2 separate regions of the Homo sapiens genome follow, and region 1 is linked to region 2. The links are contacts of gene promoters, found by promoter capture Hi-C in blood cells and fetal thymus (Javierre and others, 2016). All regions are on one chromosome and are shown on one strand. Each heading gives the region's core, a stretch centred on a gene start or on the middle of the fragment in contact. The rest is flanking DNA. Distances are from core to core; before and after follow the strand shown.

Region 1 (3,062 bases), core at 253-2,752, 200 kb after region 2:
TAATTGCAGGCAGCCTGGGGAATAAGCAGAACAACCATTGTGGTAGGTCCCATCCTGCAATCTTTTTTTTTTTTTCTTTTTTTTTTGAGACAGGGTCTCACTTTGTTTTCCAGGCTAGAGTGCAGTGGTGCAATCATGGCTCACTGCAGCCTCCCACCCCAGCCTCCCGAGTAGCTAGGACCACAGGCACATGCCACGACTAATTTTTTGTAAAGATGGAATCTCCCTATGTTGCCCAGGCTGGTCTCAAACTCCTGAGCTCAAGCAATTCTGCGATGGTCTCCCAAGGTGCTGGGATTACGGCTGTGAGCCACTGTGACCAGCTCATCCTACAATCCTTAAAGAAAGTAATAACCTCATATTCACTTCCTAACAAAAGGAAAAAAAGCACAGATATTAACACCAAAAAATACAGACGTTCAAAGACTATTGCTTGTAAAGATGTGGCAAGAAGAGAAATTTACAGGCTTTAACAAAAATATACAAGTTCCCAATCAAATTAAGGAATTTCCTCTAGACTGCAACCTGATAAAAACTCTTACTACAGGATTAACGAGTTTGAAAGTTCCCTCTCATTCCCAACTCTCCCCATCAGTGCTGTTATTCTGAATGGTCAGAAGCAAAAATAAACTCACATAAAACCAACTGTAACAGTGTGACCCATACTTTATTCCTTTTTTTTTTTTTTTTTTTTTGAGACAGAGTATTGCTGTGTCGCCCAGGCTGGAGTGCAGTGGTGCAATCTAGGCTCACTGCAACCTCCACCTCCCAGGTTCAAGAAATTCTTCTGCCTCAGGCTCCCGAGTAGTTGGGATTACAGGTGCCCACCACCATGCCTGGCTAATTTTTTTTTTTCTTGAGACAGTCTTGCTCTGTCGCCCAGGCTGAAAGTGCAGTGGTACGATCTTGGCTCACTGCAACCTCCGCCTCCCGGGTTCAAGCGATTCTCCTGCCTCAGCCTCCCGAGTAGCTGGGACTACAGGCGCAAGCCACCACGCCCGGCTAATTTTTTGTATTTTCAGTAAAGACAGGGTTTCACTGTCTTAGCCAGGATCGTCTCTTATCTCCTGACCTCGTGATCCGCCCGCCTCAGCCTCCCAAAGTGCTGGGATTACAGGCATGAGCCACCACACCTGGCCAATTTTTTTATTTTTAGTAGAGATAGGGTTTCACCTTGTTGGCCAGGCTGATCTCAAACTCCTGACCTCATGTGATCCACCCACCTCGGCCTCCCAAAGTGCTGGGATTACAGGCATGAGCCACCGCTCTCGGCCCCATACTTTATTCTTTAATATACTTTCTCATTTTCACCTAACACAAAAGCTGCTTCATAAATATCACACCTAGGAGGCACATAAAGAGAATTTAAGAAAAGACATCAGGCCGGGTGCAGTGGCTCACGCCTGTAATCCCAGAACTATGGGAAGTCAAGACGGGCGGATTATGAGGTCAAGAGATCGAGACCATCCTGGCCAACATGGTAAAAACCCCGTCTCTACTAAAAATACAAAAATTAGCTGGGCATGGTGGCGCAGGCCTGTAGTCCCAACTACTCAGGAGGCTGAGGCAGGAGAATCGCTTGAACCCAGGAGTCGGAGGTTGCAGCGAGCCAACAATGCGCCACTGCACTCCAGCCTGGCAACAGAGCGAGACACTGTCTACAAAAAAAAAAAAAAAAAAAAAGACATCATACTAAACTGAGCAGAATTATAATTTCTAAATGAATGCTGATCCCCTAATTGCCAATGAAAGACACAATCACTACAACTGAACCCCAAAATTGTAACACTTGCAATGCATGGACACTTAGAACAATCTCTAATTTTTCCTTCCTTCCATGTGCTGTTTGACTGTCCTTTTGTACAATTCTAACTCTGGCAGATGGCAGGGAAAGAATACCGCATTTTGATAATATCATACTAAACAGAAAAGAAGAAATAAAAAAGAAGGGGGAGTCTCGAATGAGTAGTTAATAGATATTACTTGCTCTATTATCTGGCTTTTTGCTTCTCCTTAAGAACAACCCCTCTCCCCCACCCACCCCTGTACCCTTGGCAATTCTGAATGATTAGAAACAGTCGGCCAAGCGCAGTGGCTCACGCCTGTAATTCCAGCACCGTGGGGGCCGAGGCAGGTGGATGACTTGAGGTCAGGAGATCGAGACCAGCCTGACCAACATGGTGAAACCCTGTCTCTACTAAAAAAAAATTACAAAAATTAGCCGGGTGTGGTGGTGGGCACCTGTAATCTCAGCTTCTCGGGAGGCAGAGGCACAAAAATCACTTGAACCTGGGAGGCAGGGGTTGCAATGAGCAAAGATCACACCACTGCACTCCAGCCTGGGCTACCAAGTGAGACTGTCAAAAACAAAAACAAAAACAAAAAACAAAAAAGCCACACAATGTGGCCTGTCCCCTGCCTCCTTGCTCCTCACCCCTAAGTATCTTAACAAACTACAGCTGTAAAATCCAGGAGGCATTTCTCTTTTAATCATTCTTTTCTCAAGCACATACACCTTTGAATGGGAACAGAAAGAAGAGACCCACCAGCCTGGACAACACAGGAAGACCAAATTTCAATAAAAAATACAAAAATTAGCCAGGTGTGGTGGTACACGCCTGCAGTCCCAGCTACTCAAGAGGCTGAGTTGGGAGGATAGCTTGAACCCAGGAGGTCAAGGTTGCAGTGAGCCGTGATCACATCACTGCACTCCAGCTTGGGTGACAGAGACCCTGTCTCAAAAAAATAAAAAAATAAAAAAGGAGATCCAGGACAGTTACTACTTCTACTAGGAACATGGTCAATAACACTTGCACACAGAAGCTCTCTCGTTTTGCCACAACACAAATACCTTTTTCTTTCTAAGACAGCAAGGAAAAAAGTGTATGTGTGGATGTGTCAAAAGGGTATTTTTCTTGCTCTAAGCCTCCCCCCTCCCTCTCCTTGTCCATCAGCCCAAGCAAGCAGAGATGACGCAGACTTCCTTATATAATGGCCTGTGATTTCCTAGACTGCAGGCCTTTCCCTTTGTGTTCTGTATACACTTACACACACGAGCGCGC
Region 2 (3,258 bases), core at 623-3,122:
ATATATTGCCAGCTCTTCCAATATTTTAAGGAAAGTCAGAAATCCAGGTTGGGCCTGGTGGCTCACACATGTTATCCAGGAATTTTGGGAGGCCAATGCAAGAGGATCGCTTGAGCCTAGGAGTTCAAGACCAGCCTGGGCAACATAGGGAGACCTCCATCTTTGAAGGAAAAAAAAAAAAAAGTCAGAAATCCAAATATTCATGTACCATCTTTTTTTTTTTTTTTTTTTTGAGACGGAGTCTTGCTCTGTTGCCCAGGCTGGAGTGCAGTGGCGCAATCTCGGCTCGTTGCAACCTCTGTCTCCCGGATTCAAGCAATTCTCTACCTCAGCCTCCCAAGTAGCTGGGATTACAGGCGGCCGCCACCATGTCTGGCTAATTTTTGTATTTTTAGTAGAGACGGGGTTTCACCATCTTGGCCAGGCTGATCTTGAACTCCTGACCTCATGATCCACCCACCCTGACCTCCCAAAGTGCTGGGATTAGAGGCTTGAGCCACCTTGCCCGGCCCCATCTTATGATATTTAAGTGTGGGGAATTAAATACAATATACATAAAGAGAATGCAAGCCAAAGCATGCCTGCCATCTCAAGTTGGCCTATCGACCACAATTTGCTCTAGATAATAAGAATATTCAAGTCTCCTAAAATTCCATATATAGGAAATGTACTTCAACATTCTGCTCTGTCTACACAGAATACCTTTCTCATCCTTCCATCCTCTTGAATTATTTCTTTTTTGGAGATTTTCTGGCCCCAATCCAAGCAGAATGAATAGCCCTCATCTGAGTCCTTTAGCAATTTATCCATGTCTCCCCTGTAGTGCTTAATGCATGTTGCATTACGGTTATTTGTCCCAAATGGAGCTCCTCAAAGGCACGGACTATATATATTCATCTTTATGCCCTCGGCACCTAGTGGGTGCTTAATGCACCGAAGGTTCTCTGGAAATGTTTGCTGACCTGAAGTTTGGTGATCTTATGTCCTGCTTAGGCGCAGCGTTGGAGAGGTTGGCGCTGCAATGCCGTCAATAACCCCCGATGACCATTAGAGGGCACACTGATTCCACAGCAGTCTGCACCGGGGGCCCAGCTGTCAAGTGCTCCAAAACCCACTCCCCAATTTACGCCTCCAGTGGTCATCTCCCACAGCCTTCATTTTAACAACCCTCAACACAAAACAGTCATTTTCTTGGGGCGTCCCTGAGGTGTGAACCTCCTCCCTCCCAGACACCCACCCACTCTCCCCATCTTCCTACAATTTGGGCGCTAAAGATTTAATTCCTCTCTGACACCAGATCATTTTTTCACAGCTAATCTGCACAGTCTGGAAGGTGGCAGGGAGGGAAAGAGAGGGAGATCATAGAAGGAATGGGTAACAAGCACTCTGGGCTCACCTTCAACTTTAACGGACTTTCCAGAAACCCGTCACCTTCCACCCCACACCCAAACACACACATCCACGCACTCACTCAGTTTCCTGCCAGGATCCCAAACCAGCACACCTTTCCCTCTTCCCCCGAGGAGACCAGGTAGGAGGCGAGGGAAAAGGTGGGGCGCAAGTGGGCCCCGGTTGCTTCCACACACACCCTCCGTTCAGCCGTCCTTTCCATCCCGGCGAGGGCGCACCTTCAGAGGGTCCTGTCCTCCAAAGAGGTAGGCGTGGGGCGGCCGAGACCGGGGAAGATGGTCCACGGGGAAGCGCGCGGGCTGGGCGGCGGGGAGGAAGGAGTTAAAGATCCTGGATTGGCTCTTCTGTCACTGAGTCTGGGAGGGGAAGCGGCTGGGAGGGAGGGTTCGGAGCTTGGCTCGGGTCCTCCACGGTTCCCTCCGGATAGCCGGAGACTTGGGCCGGCCGGACGCCCCTTCTGGCACACTCCCTGGGGCAGGCGCTCACGCACGCTACAAACACACACTCCTCTTTCCTCCCTCGCGCGCCCTCTCTCATCCTTCTTCACGAAGCGCTCACTCGCACCCTTTCTCTCTCTCTCTCTCTCTCTCTAACACGCACGCACACTCCCAGTTGTTCACACTCGGGTCCTCTCCAGCCCGACGTTCTCCTGGCACCCACCTGCTCCGCGGCGCCCTGCGCGCCCCCCTCGGTCGCGCCCCTTGCGCTCTCGGCCCAGACCGTCGCAGCTACAGGGGGCCTCGAGCCCCGGGGTGAGCGTCCCCGTCCCGCTCCTGCTCCTTCCCATAGGGACGCGCCTGATGCCTGGGACCGGCCGCTGAGCCCAAGGGGACCGAGGAGGCCATGGTAGGAGCGCTCGCCTGCTGCGGTGCCCGCTGAGGCCATGCCGGGGCCCCGGCGCCCCGCTGGCTCCCGCCTGCGCCTGCTCCTGCTCCTGCTGCTGCCGCCGCTGCTGCTGCTGCTCCGGGGCAGCCACGCGGGCAACCTGACGGTAGCCGTGGTACTGCCGCTGGCCAATACCTCGTACCCCTGGTCGTGGGCGCGCGTGGGACCCGCCGTGGAGCTGGCCCTGGCCCAGGTGAAGGCGCGCCCCGACTTGCTGCCGGGCTGGACGGTCCGCACGGTGCTGGGCAGCAGCGAAAACGCGCTGGGCGTCTGCTCCGACACCGCAGCGCCCCTGGCCGCGGTGGACCTCAAGTGGGAGCACAACCCCGCTGTGTTCCTGGGCCCCGGCTGCGTGTACGCCGCCGCCCCAGTGGGGCGCTTCACCGCGCACTGGCGGGTCCCGCTGCTGACCGCCGGCGCCCCGGCGCTGGGCTTCGGTGTCAAGGACGAGTATGCGCTGACCACCCGCGCGGGGCCCAGCTACGCCAAGCTGGGGGACTTCGTGGCGGCGCTGCACCGACGGCTGGGCTGGGAGCGCCAAGCGCTCATGCTCTACGCCTACCGGCCGGGTGACGAAGAGCACTGCTTCTTCCTCGTGGAGGGGCTGTTCATGCGGGTCCGCGACCGCCTCAATATTACGGTGGACCACCTGGAGTTCGCCGAGGACGACCTCAGCCACTACACCAGGCTGCTGCGGACCATGCCGCGCAAAGGCCGAGGTGAGACGCTGGCACACCCCGTCCCGCCGCTTAGCCGCAGGGCCTCCCCTCTGACCTGCCGGAGGCATCGGGACTTTCTCTCTCATCTGGGGGCACTCTTCTTTCTCCTCGCCGTTCTTCATTCTACTTTCAGCTCCCTGGCCCTTTCTACAGCTGAGTTTCTATTTCCCTCTCTTCTTCCGCCACCCCCACCACGTCTCTATCCTCTCATCTCCCCGACCCCCACTCATTCCCTCCCACCCTA

What was found. Contacts are between HindIII fragments. The CHiCAGO score rates a contact against its expected background, and 5 or more counts as called.
Region 1: a fragment that was not itself captured here is called in contact with the fragment with the promoter of NPR1 in region 2 in 1 of 17 cell types (M1 macrophages); the score reaches 5.5 in M1 macrophages.

The regions. Positions count from the first base shown.
Region 1 is chr1:153,878,101-153,881,162 of GRCh38, forward strand. All of the region lies in intron 1 of GATAD2B (GATA zinc finger domain containing 2B), which reads right to left. Among named protein-coding and RNA genes, the nearest start is that of GATAD2B, 43 kb to the right of the region's middle. RefSeq lists a silencer at 2,933-3,062. The HindIII fragment of the contact is 8,275 bases long and covers 1-3,062 here.
Region 2 is chr1:153,676,816-153,680,073 of GRCh38, forward strand. NPR1 (natriuretic peptide receptor 1) reads left to right here and starts at 1,873. Exons shown (of 22, transcript NM_000906.4): 1 at 1,873-3,014. The coding sequence starts at 2,294. RefSeq lists enhancers at 1,110-2,091, 2,092-3,072 and a silencer at 2,614-2,673. The HindIII fragment of the contact is 5,247 bases long and covers 1-3,258 here.